Linked DNA regions of Homo sapiens: region 2 is linked to region 1. The links are contacts of gene promoters, found by promoter capture Hi-C in human tissues and cell types (Jung and others, 2019). All regions are on one chromosome and are shown on one strand. Each heading gives the region's core, a stretch centred on a gene start or on the middle of the fragment in contact. The rest is flanking DNA. Distances are from core to core; before and after follow the strand shown. Region 1 holds the start of LY6E (lymphocyte antigen 6 family member E). Region 2 has its middle 12 kb from the start of CYP11B1.

Region 1 (5,294 bases), core at 23-2,522:
CCCACCCGTGCTTTCGTCCCACAGTTCTTACTGAGCCCCTGCCATGGCAGGGATGGCCCCAGGTGCCGGCTGCAGAGACAGAACCCCCTGCCCTCACCGCCAACATTCCAGAGGGGAAGATGCCCTGCCTGTGCCCCACGTAAGACCCAGAGGCAGGGACTCCCCCGGGCCACAGCCTACTGGAGGCTCCTGTCCCCAGAGACAGCTGGGCCATCGCCCCCAAAGCTGTGGAAGCCCCACCCACGATGCCATCATACCACGGCCAGGACATCTCGTGACACACACAGCCCCAGCCTCAGCCTCCATACACACACACACACGCACCACACACACTCACTCATGCAAAACACACACACAGCCACATTGACTGCACCCCTAGATTTGAGACAGGGGTGTTACAGGTGTCTGTCAGCCCCAGCCCCCTCCTGACCACATGGCCACCTGCCCACCCTCACATTTCCGCACACCCTCCCCCTACTCCCGTGTGGGGTTCAGAAGACCCCTCCCTGGTGCTCGCCCTGTCACCCAGAAAGGAAACGCACTGTCAACTGGAGAACAGGCCGGTGGCAGAGCCCCAGCGCCCACAGCCCCTCGGAGAGGGCCTGGCGGGAGGAGAGGCACCCACCGATGGCAGAGCCTCAGTGCCCTCGCAGAAGCCAGCACCCACAACCTCCCACCTCCCAACCCTTGCCGGTCTCCCCACCCCCGCCTGAGGGATGGCCAAGGAACAGCCCAGCCTGGAGCGGGAAGCAGGGACAAGATGACCTCAGGAATCCCAGGCTGCGGGGGTGCCTGCGTCCTCCCCTCCCGAGCTCCACTCCGCAGGCGAGACCCCCAACACTGCTCCCCGACACTCTCCGAGGCACCCCTCCTCCGTGCTCACACCCAAACACGTCTGCTCACCCGTGGGCTTCCCACCCCGAACACAACGAGGACTGTCCAGGTGTCAGTGACGGTCACCCCGACCTGGTCCCCTGTCCGGCCTCGCCAGGTCAGCACCCGCCGCGCGCACAGCAGGGCCGGGTGGAAGGAGGCCGGGCCTGGCCGTGGCTCAGGCGCCACCTCACTGGGGAAACTGGGAGGTGGTCTCAGCCCCCTTCTGGGCCTCAGCTTCCCCATCTATCCCAAGGAGCCGGGGTAGGCCTGGGCGGCGCGGGGACCCCCACCGCGGGCTCGCCGACTCCGCCCGCCGGAGGCCCCTCCCGCGTCCCGCCCCTGCCCCCGCCCCGGGGCCGCGCGGCTGCCTGGGAGGCTCCGGGCCAGCCGCGGTCCAGAGCGCGCGAGGTTCGGGGAGCTCGGCCAGGCTGCTGGTACCTGCGTCCGCCCGGCGGTGAGTCCGCGGGCCCCCGGCCGGGACGCCCCCGCCACCTGCGCGCACGCGCTCAGACCCGGCGGCCTCGGCTGCGGTGCACGCGGCCCCGGCTCAGCCACGCGCGGCGGAAGGCGCCCTGCGGGGGCCGGGGCGGGAGAGGGTGGGAGAGAGCAAGAGGGGCGCACGGGGAGGCGCAGGAGAGGGGCTGGGGCTGCCGGTGGGTTGGTCCCCAGAGAGCTGAGCTTCTCCTCCCATCCCCCGCAGGCCTCCCCGAATGTTTCCAAAGATCTGGGGCGGGAGCGGGCGGAGACTGCCGCCAGGAGCCTCCCGGCCGCCCCAGGGCTGCGCAGCCACTGGAGCCCATCACCCAACTCCAGACGCTCCTGGCTCCTCTACGTGGGCCGGGAGGGACAGCCTTGAGGACTAGGGGAGGGGGCACGGGACCTTGCAGAGCTCCTGGCCGGAAAGGGAGGATTGACCGCCCCCGGCATATCACCCCGGAGCACTGGAACCCGCCCCCGCTTCTTGTTTTGGCACTGGTGGTGCTTGCGGTGAGGTCCAAGGAGCCCAGCCTCCCTGAGTGGACCGCCGGGCCCCTCCCCGTTCCGGGACACAGGAGAGGCTCCCGCCCCTTGCTGGCTGGGCAGCCCCTAGATACCTGGCTCCCAGGGGCCAGCTTCCCTGAGCCTGGGGATGAGCCATGAGCCTGCAGCCTGGGCCCCAGGGGCGCCCCCCACGGCCTGCCGGCTGGCTCCCTCCGGGCTCCATGGCCCACCCGGCCTTCCTAATTGCCTTCGGCTCCCACCGGTGCCTTAGCTCAGCCTGGTGGCCCAGCGGGTTGGGTGCCACCCAGTGAGCAGGTGGCGGCACCAGCTGGACCTGTTTGTGGCCCTGTATGCTAGGACTTCCTCAGAGACAGCTCAGGGACCCCCCCACACCAGAACCTCACTTTAGGGGGGTGGGGGGAAAAGGAATTGGAGATCCTTCCTCCTCGGGCTACTCCCTGGAGGCGGGGATAGGCCCCAGCCGGACTTGGCACTGTTTTTGGCCACCTGGGGCTCCCACTCCCAACCCCAGGATGTCAGCCCAGGTCTCACTGTCCTGGCCTGCTGCTCTCCCCTTAGGGCCTCTGCGGGCCCCTCTCCAGATCTGTTCTCTGAGGCATCCTCCTTACCCCCAGTGCCCAGCACTAGCTCCCCAGGCCCGGGATGTCCCTCCCACTCCTCTGCCCACGGCTGTCCCTGACAGAAGGCAGCAGCCTCCCCCTCCAACACCATGCACTCACAAAACAGAGAATCACGACCCCAGCTGGGTGTGTTCCAGATTCTTTCTCCAGCAGTGCAGAGGGTCCTGTGCAGAGGCCGAGGAGCAGTACAGCGACCCATCTGGCCCTTTCCTGCTGGTGGGACCAGTGGCACGCAGCCTTGTCTCTCGGAGCCCATTTCCCAGCCACAGAATGGGGAGTAGCAGATACTGAGTGGGGTGCTTTCCTCGGAACTGAGTAACATCAGGAATGGGGAGTGCTTTCCCCCTCAGCCATGCCCCACCTGGCCCCAGGTCTCCATGTGAGGGGAGCTGCCTGGGCTCAAAACACTGAGCCATCCCAAGGAAAATTCTAGATACAGATTAGCTAATATACACTGACAGATACACATATAGATGTGTATATAGATTTCTCTTTTTTTTGAGACAGGGTCTCACTCTGTTGCCCAGGCTGCAGTGCAGTGGCATGATCATAGTTCACTTCAGTCTTGAACTCCCTGGCTCAAGAGATCCTCCCACCTCAGCCTCCCAAGTAGCTGACCACAGGCACGTACCACGCCCGGCTAATTTTTGTATTTTTTGTAGAAACAGGAGGTCTCACTGTGTTGCCCAGGGTGGTCTCAAACCCCTGGCCTCATATGATCCTCCTGCCTTGGCCTCACATAGCATGGAGATTACAGGCGTGAGCCCCTGTACCCAGCCCCAGACTAGCTAATATTATGACTGATCACCATTCCCCATTCCCCATTCCCCCACCCCAGGACCACTGGCAGAGGCCACTCACTCTGCCTTCTTTTCTGTGGTTCTGAGAAGGCTGCTGAGTTTCCTCCTCTTGCCTGTGCAGCCCCCTCCTGCCAGGTTTCAGGAGGGAGATAGCCTAGAGCATGTCTGCACTGAGTGAGGAGTGGGTCAGGAGAGAAGCAGGGAAGTCCTTGTGTGCTGGCAGGTCCCTTCCCCTCTGCTGTCTGTGTCCTCATCTGCAAAGTGGGGGTGCATGGTCTTGGGGAGGAGTGAGGCACCACCCGGCCCCCTAACCAGTGTGTCTCTCCAGAGCAGGACAGGCTGCTTTGGTTTGTGACCTCCAGGCAGGACGGCCATCCTCTCCAGAATGAAGATCTTCTTGCCAGTGCTGCTGGCTGCCCTTCTGGGTGTGGAGCGAGGTGAGGTGCCCTTGGGGACCCCAGACCTTTGTCCAGCTGTGCCCTGCTCCACTCCCTCTCCACCCCTCTCCCCTGAGCAGACGCCCCAGGGGTCCTTCCAGGCCGCTCCCAGCAGAGGGCTCACCCGGCCTGGCCACACTGTCTCACTGTGTGTTTGAGTGTCGCTTGACCTGCTCGACGGCCAGGGTGGGGTGTCACTGTCTTTGCTCTGCCTTCAGCCCAGGGCCTGGTATACAGTAATTTCTCAGTAAATGTCCACTGGGGTCAGGCCTGGGAGGGACACTGGAGGCTTCCCTGAGACAGGTGTGTCCTCCTTCCGCAGCCAGCTCGCTGATGTGCTTCTCCTGCTTGAACCAGAAGAGCAATCTGTACTGCCTGAAGCCGACCATCTGCTCCGACCAGGACAACTACTGCGTGACTGTGTCTGCTAGTGCCGGCATTGGTGAGTGCCAGGCCTCAGACCGTGCCTTCCTCCCCTGGCCATCTCCCTAGCCCGGGCCGGGGCTCAGCAGAGGCCATTGCTGTCTGTCTGCAGCCGTCTGTCTCTCCCCTGACAGCCTCATTTCCCATGCAGGGAATCTCGTGACATTTGGCCACAGCCTGAGCAAGACCTGTTCCCCGGCCTGCCCCATCCCAGAAGGCGTCAATGTTGGTGTGGCTTCCATGGGCATCAGCTGCTGCCAGAGCTTTCTGTGCAATTTCAGTGCGGCCGATGGCGGGCTGCGGGCAAGCGTCACCCTGCTGGGTGCCGGGCTGCTGCTGAGCCTGCTGCCGGCCCTGCTGCGGTTTGGCCCCTGACCGCCCAGACCCTGTCCCCCGATCCCCCAGCTCAGGAAGGAAAGCCCAGCCCTTTCTGGATCCCACAGTGTATGGGAGCCCCTGACTCCTCACGTGCCTGATCTGTGCCCTTGGTCCCAGGTCAGGCCCACCCCCTGCACCTCCACCTGCCCCAGCCCCTGCCTCTGCCCCAAGTGGGGCCAGCTGCCCTCACTTCTGGGGTGGATGATGTGACCTTCCTTGGGGGACCGCGGAAGGGACGAGGGTTCCCTGGAGTCTTACGGTCCAACATCAGGACCAAGTCCCATGGACATGCTGACAGGGTCCCCAGGGAGACCGTGTCAGTAGGGATGTGTGCCTGGCTGTGTACGTGGGTGTGCAGTGCACGTGAGAGCACGTGGCGGCTTCTGGGGGCCATGTTTGGGGAGGGAGGTGTGCCAGCAGCCTGGAGAGCCTCAGTCCCTGTAGCCCCCTGCCCTGGCACAGCTGCATGCACTTCAAGGGCAGCCTTTGGGGGTTGGGGTTTCTGCCACTTCCGGGTCTAGGCCCTGCCCCAAATCCAGCCAGTCCTGCCCCAGCCCACCCCCACATTGGAGCCCTCCTGCTGCTTTGGTGCCTCAAATAAATACAGATGTCCCCCAGCTTCCTGCTCTGAGTGTGGCTGCCCCTTGCGGGGAGAGGCAGAGCACCCCAGGTTTGGAGGGTCCTGGGGTCTTCTGTGGTATGGCCCAGGGGGGTGGTGGGGGAGGAGGAGTCGTCCCCTGAGCCACAGCCAGCTGCTT
Region 2 (4,539 bases), core at 530-3,029, 130 kb before region 1:
CAATTTTCTGTATTAGTCTGTTCTCACACTGCTATAAATAACTATCTGAGACTGGGTAATTTATAAAGAAAAGAGGTTTGGTTGACTCACAGTTCTGCAGGCTGTACAGGGAGCATAGCTGGAAGACCTCAGGAAACTTACAGTCATGGCAGATGATGAAGGGGAAGCAGGCACGTCTTAACATGACAGAGCAGGAGAGAGAGAGAGTGAAGGGGGAGGTGCTACATACTTTCAAACAACCAAATCTCATGAGAACTCTATCATGAGACAGCACAAGAGGGATGGTGCTTAACCATTAGAAACCACCCCTCCATGATCCAAGCATCTCCCACCAGGACCCTCCTCCAACACGTGGGAATTACAGTTCGACATGAGATTTGGGTGGGGACACACAGCCAAACCATCTCACAATTATACGCTTTTAGTGATTTTTAAATGTACAATTAAATTGTCATTGATTATAATCACCCTGTTGTGCTATCAAATAGTAGGTCTTATTCATTCTTTCTATATTTTAACCATTCTCACCTCACCTCCACTCCCTCACTACCATTCTTAGCCTCTGGTAACTATCCTACTCTGTATCCCCATGAGTTCAATTGTTTCAGTTTTTAGATCCCACAAATAAGTGAGAACATGCAATGCTTGTCTTTCTGTGCCTGGCTTATTTCAATTAATGTAATAATCTGCAGTTCCATCCTTGTTGGTGCAAATGACAGGATCAAATGCTTTTTCATGGCTGAATAGTACTCCATTGTGTATATTCACCACATTTCCTTTATCCTTTTATCTGTTGACGCACACTTAGATTGCTTCCAAATCTTGGCTGTTGTGAACAGTACTGCAATAAACATGCTAGTGCAGATCCCATATACCAATTTCCTTTCTTTTGGGTATATACCTAGCAATGAGATTGCTGGATTGTATGGTACCTCTATTTTTAGTTTTTTGAGGAACCCCCAAACTATTTTCTATAGTGGTTGCACTAATTTACATTCCTACCAACAGTGTAGAAGGGTTCCCTTTCTCCACTTCCTCGCTAGCATTTGTTATTGCCTGTCTTTTGGATACAAGCCATTGTAACTGGGGTGAGAAAATATCTCATGGTAGTTTTTATTTGCATTTCTCTGATGATAATGATGTTGAGCAGCTTTTCATATGCCTGTTTACTGTTTGTATGTCTTTTTTTAAGAAATGTCTATTCGAATATTTTGCCCATTTTTAAATTGGATTATTAGTTTTTTTTCCTACAGAGTTGTTTGAACTCCTTATATATTCTGATTATTACTCCTTTGTCAGATGGGTAGCTTGCAAATATTTTCTCCCATTCTGTGGGTTGTCGCTTCACCTTGGCAATTGTTTACTTTGCTGTGCAGAAGTTTTCTAACTTGATGTAATCCTATTTGTCCATTTTTGTTTTGGTTGTGTGTGTTTGTGGGTTATTATTCGGGAAATCTTTGCCCAGACCAATGTCCTGGAAAGTTTCTCCAATATTTTCTTATAGTAGTTTCATAGTATGAGGTTTTATGTTTATGACTTTAATCCATTTTGATTTGATTTTTGTATATGGTGAGAAACGGGTCTAATTTCATTCTTCTGCATATAGATATCCAGTTTTCTCAGCACCATTTATTGAAGAGACTGTCTTTTCCTTGGCACCTTTGTCAAAAATGAGTTCACTGTTGTGTATGGATTTTTTTCTTAGCTCTCTATTCTATTCCATTGATCTATGTGTCTGTTTTAATGCCAGTACCCTGCTGCTTTGCTTACTATACTTCTGTAGTATAATATGAAGTCAAGTAATGTGATTTCTCCAGTTTTGTTCCTTTGCTTAGGGTAACTTTGGCTATTCCGGGTCTTTTGTGGTTCCATATAGATTTTAGGATTGTTTTTCTATTTCTGTGAGGAATATCACTGGTATTTTGAGAGGGACTGCATTGAATCTGTAGATTGCTTTGGGTAGTATGGACATTTTAACCATATCAATCCTTCCAATCAACGAACATTTTGGTGTCTTCTTCAATTTCTTTCATCACTGTTTAATAGTCTTTCACTTCTTTAGTTAATCTCAGGTATTTAATTTTATTTGTGGTTATTGTAAATGGAATTACTTTTTATTTTTCAAATTGTTCACTGTTGGCATATGGAAATGCTACTGATTTTTGTAAGTTGATTTTGTATTCTGCAACTTTACTGAATTTGTTTATAAGTTCTAATAGTTTTTTTGTGGAGTCTTTATATTCTTCCAAATATAAGATTATATAATCTGCAAACAAGGATAATTTCACTGCTTCCTTTCTAATGTGGATGTTGTTTATATCTTTATCTTGTCTGACTCCTCTAGCTAGGACTTCCAGTACTATGTTGAATAACAGTGGTGATAGTGGGCATCCTTGTCATTCTCTAGATCTTGGAGGACAGGCTTTCAGTTTTCCCCCATTCAGTATGATACTAGCTGTGGGTCTGTAATATATGGCTTTTATTATGTTAAAGTATATTCCTTCTACACCCAGTTTTTTGAGGGTTTGTTTTTATCATAAAAGGATGTTGAATTTTATTAAATGTTTTTCAGCATCAATGGAAATGATTATACAGTTTTTGTCCTTCATTCTGTTGATGGGATGTATCACACTGATTGATTTGCATTTGTTGAACCATTCTTGCATCCCAGAGATAAATCTCACTTGGTCGTGATGAATGGTCTTTTTAACGTATTGTGGAATTCAATTTGATAGTATTTTGTTGAGGATTTTTGCATCAATATTTATCAGAGATATTGGCCTTTAATTTTTTTATGTGTCTTTGTCTGGTTTTGGTATCAGGGTAATACTGGTCTTGTAGAATGAGTTCAGAAGTATTCCTTCATCCTTTATTTTTCAGAATAGTTTCAGTAGGATTGGTATTAGTTCTTCTTTAAATGCTTGGTAGAATTCAGCGGTGAAGCTATTGAGTCCAGGGCTTCTCTTTACTTGGAGACATTTTATTATGGAGTAAATCTCATTACTTGCTATTTGTCTGTTCAGGTTTTTTATTTTTTCAAGGTTCAATCTTGGTAGGTTTTTGTGTCTTGAAATGTATCCATTTCTTCTAGATTTTCCAATTTATTGGCATGTAGTTGCTCATAGTAGCCACTAATTATCCTTTGAGTTTCTGCAGCATCAGTTTTAATATCTCTTTTTTCATTTCTGATTTTATTTATTTGAATCTTCTCTTTTTTTTTCTTAGTTAGTTGGGCTAAAGTTTTGTCAACTTTGTTTATCTTTTCAAAGAAAGACCCAACTTTTTGTTTCATTGATCTTTTGTATCACTTTCTTCATTTCAATTTCATTTATTTCTGTTCCTTAGGTTTTATTTGAAGTTTTTCTTCTTTTTTGAGATAGGCACTTACAGCTATAAAGTTCCCTCTTAGTACTGCTTTTGCTGTATCCCATAAATTTTGGTATGTTTTGTTTCCAGTATCATTTGTTTCAAGAAATTTTTCAATTTTCTTCTTAATTTTTTCATTGACCCAGTGGTCATTCAGGAGGATATTGTTTAACTTCCATATATTTGTATAGTTTCCAAAATTCTTCTTGTTAATTGATTTCTAGTTTTATTTCATTGTGGTCATAGAAGATGCTCAATATTATTTCAATTTTTTGAATGTTTTAAGATTTGTTTTTTGACCTAACCTACGGTCTATCCTTGAGAATGATCCATGTGCTGAGGAAAATAATGTGTATTCTGTAGCCGTTGGATAAAATATTCTGCAAATATCTACTAGGTCCATTTGGTTTATAGTTCAGATTAAGTCTGATGTTTCTTTGTTGACTTTCTGTCTGGAAGATCTGTCCGATAGTCAAAGTGAGGTATTGACGTCTCCACTTACTATTGTATTGGGGGTCTATCTCTCTCACCACAGTGGGGAATCTGCTAAGCTTCACCTGAAGCCAGCAAGTCTCAGATTCTCACCTAAAGCCCTTGATGAAGAACCTGGGTATAGCTGCTTATTATTCAAGGTCCAAGGTCTCTTTAGTTAGCAGGTGATGATTCCTGCCAGACTTGGCCCTTCCCTTCAAGGCAGCAGGTTCTCTTCCGGCCCAAGGTGTGTCTAGTAATGTCATCTGAGAGCTAGGGCCTGGAAAGGGGACCTCAGGACTCTGACAAGTGCCCTATCCTGCTGTGGCTGAAGCTGGTATCCAAGATGTAAGACAACGTCCTCCCCTTTCTTTTCTCTCCTCTCCTCAAGTAGAAGGAAGGGGTCTCCTTTGGAGCTTCAAACTGTGCAGCCTGTGGTTAGGAGAGCGGTGTGATGCCAGCACTCCCTTATCTGCCCCAGCTATTGCCTAAGTATCTCACGTGCCCACCGGTCCACTGGCTCTGGGCCCAGTTCAGCAGCAGGAGTTGCAGTTCTTGTGGCCTAGACTGCCTTTCAAGTTTGTTTAGAGGTGCTTTAAAGGGTACCTCCAAAGTCCAGAGGTCCCCTTTATTTAGAGGTGCTCTAAATAAACTTGAAACTCTAGTCTGTGGTAATGAGGCTTGAGGCAACTCCAGTTTGTA

Evidence for each region. The method cuts DNA at HindIII sites, captures the fragments that hold promoters and counts their contacts. A contact is called where the count stands out against the background at its distance.
Region 2: a contact is called between a fragment that was not itself captured here and the fragment with the promoter of LY6E in region 1, in 2 of the 25 tissues and cell types used here (liver and lymphoblastoid cells).

What each region holds. Positions count from the first base shown.
Region 1 is chr8:143,017,257-143,022,550 of GRCh38, forward strand. It overlaps LY6E (lymphocyte antigen 6 family member E), which reads left to right and starts at 1,273. Exons shown (of 4, transcript NM_002346.3): 1 at 1,273-1,330; 2 at 3,627-3,735; 3 at 4,058-4,177; 4 at 4,310-5,153. The coding sequence starts at 3,684. The coding sequence ends at 4,533. It overlaps LY6E-DT (LY6E divergent transcript), which reads right to left and starts at 1,134. Exons shown (of 2, transcript NR_026913.1): 1 at 904-1,134. The HindIII fragment of the contact is 17,617 bases long and covers 1-5,294 here.
Region 2 is chr8:142,889,738-142,894,276 of GRCh38, forward strand. No RefSeq gene overlaps it. Among named protein-coding and RNA genes, the nearest start is that of CYP11B1, 12 kb to the left of the region's middle. The HindIII fragment of the contact is 8,238 bases long and covers 1-4,539 here.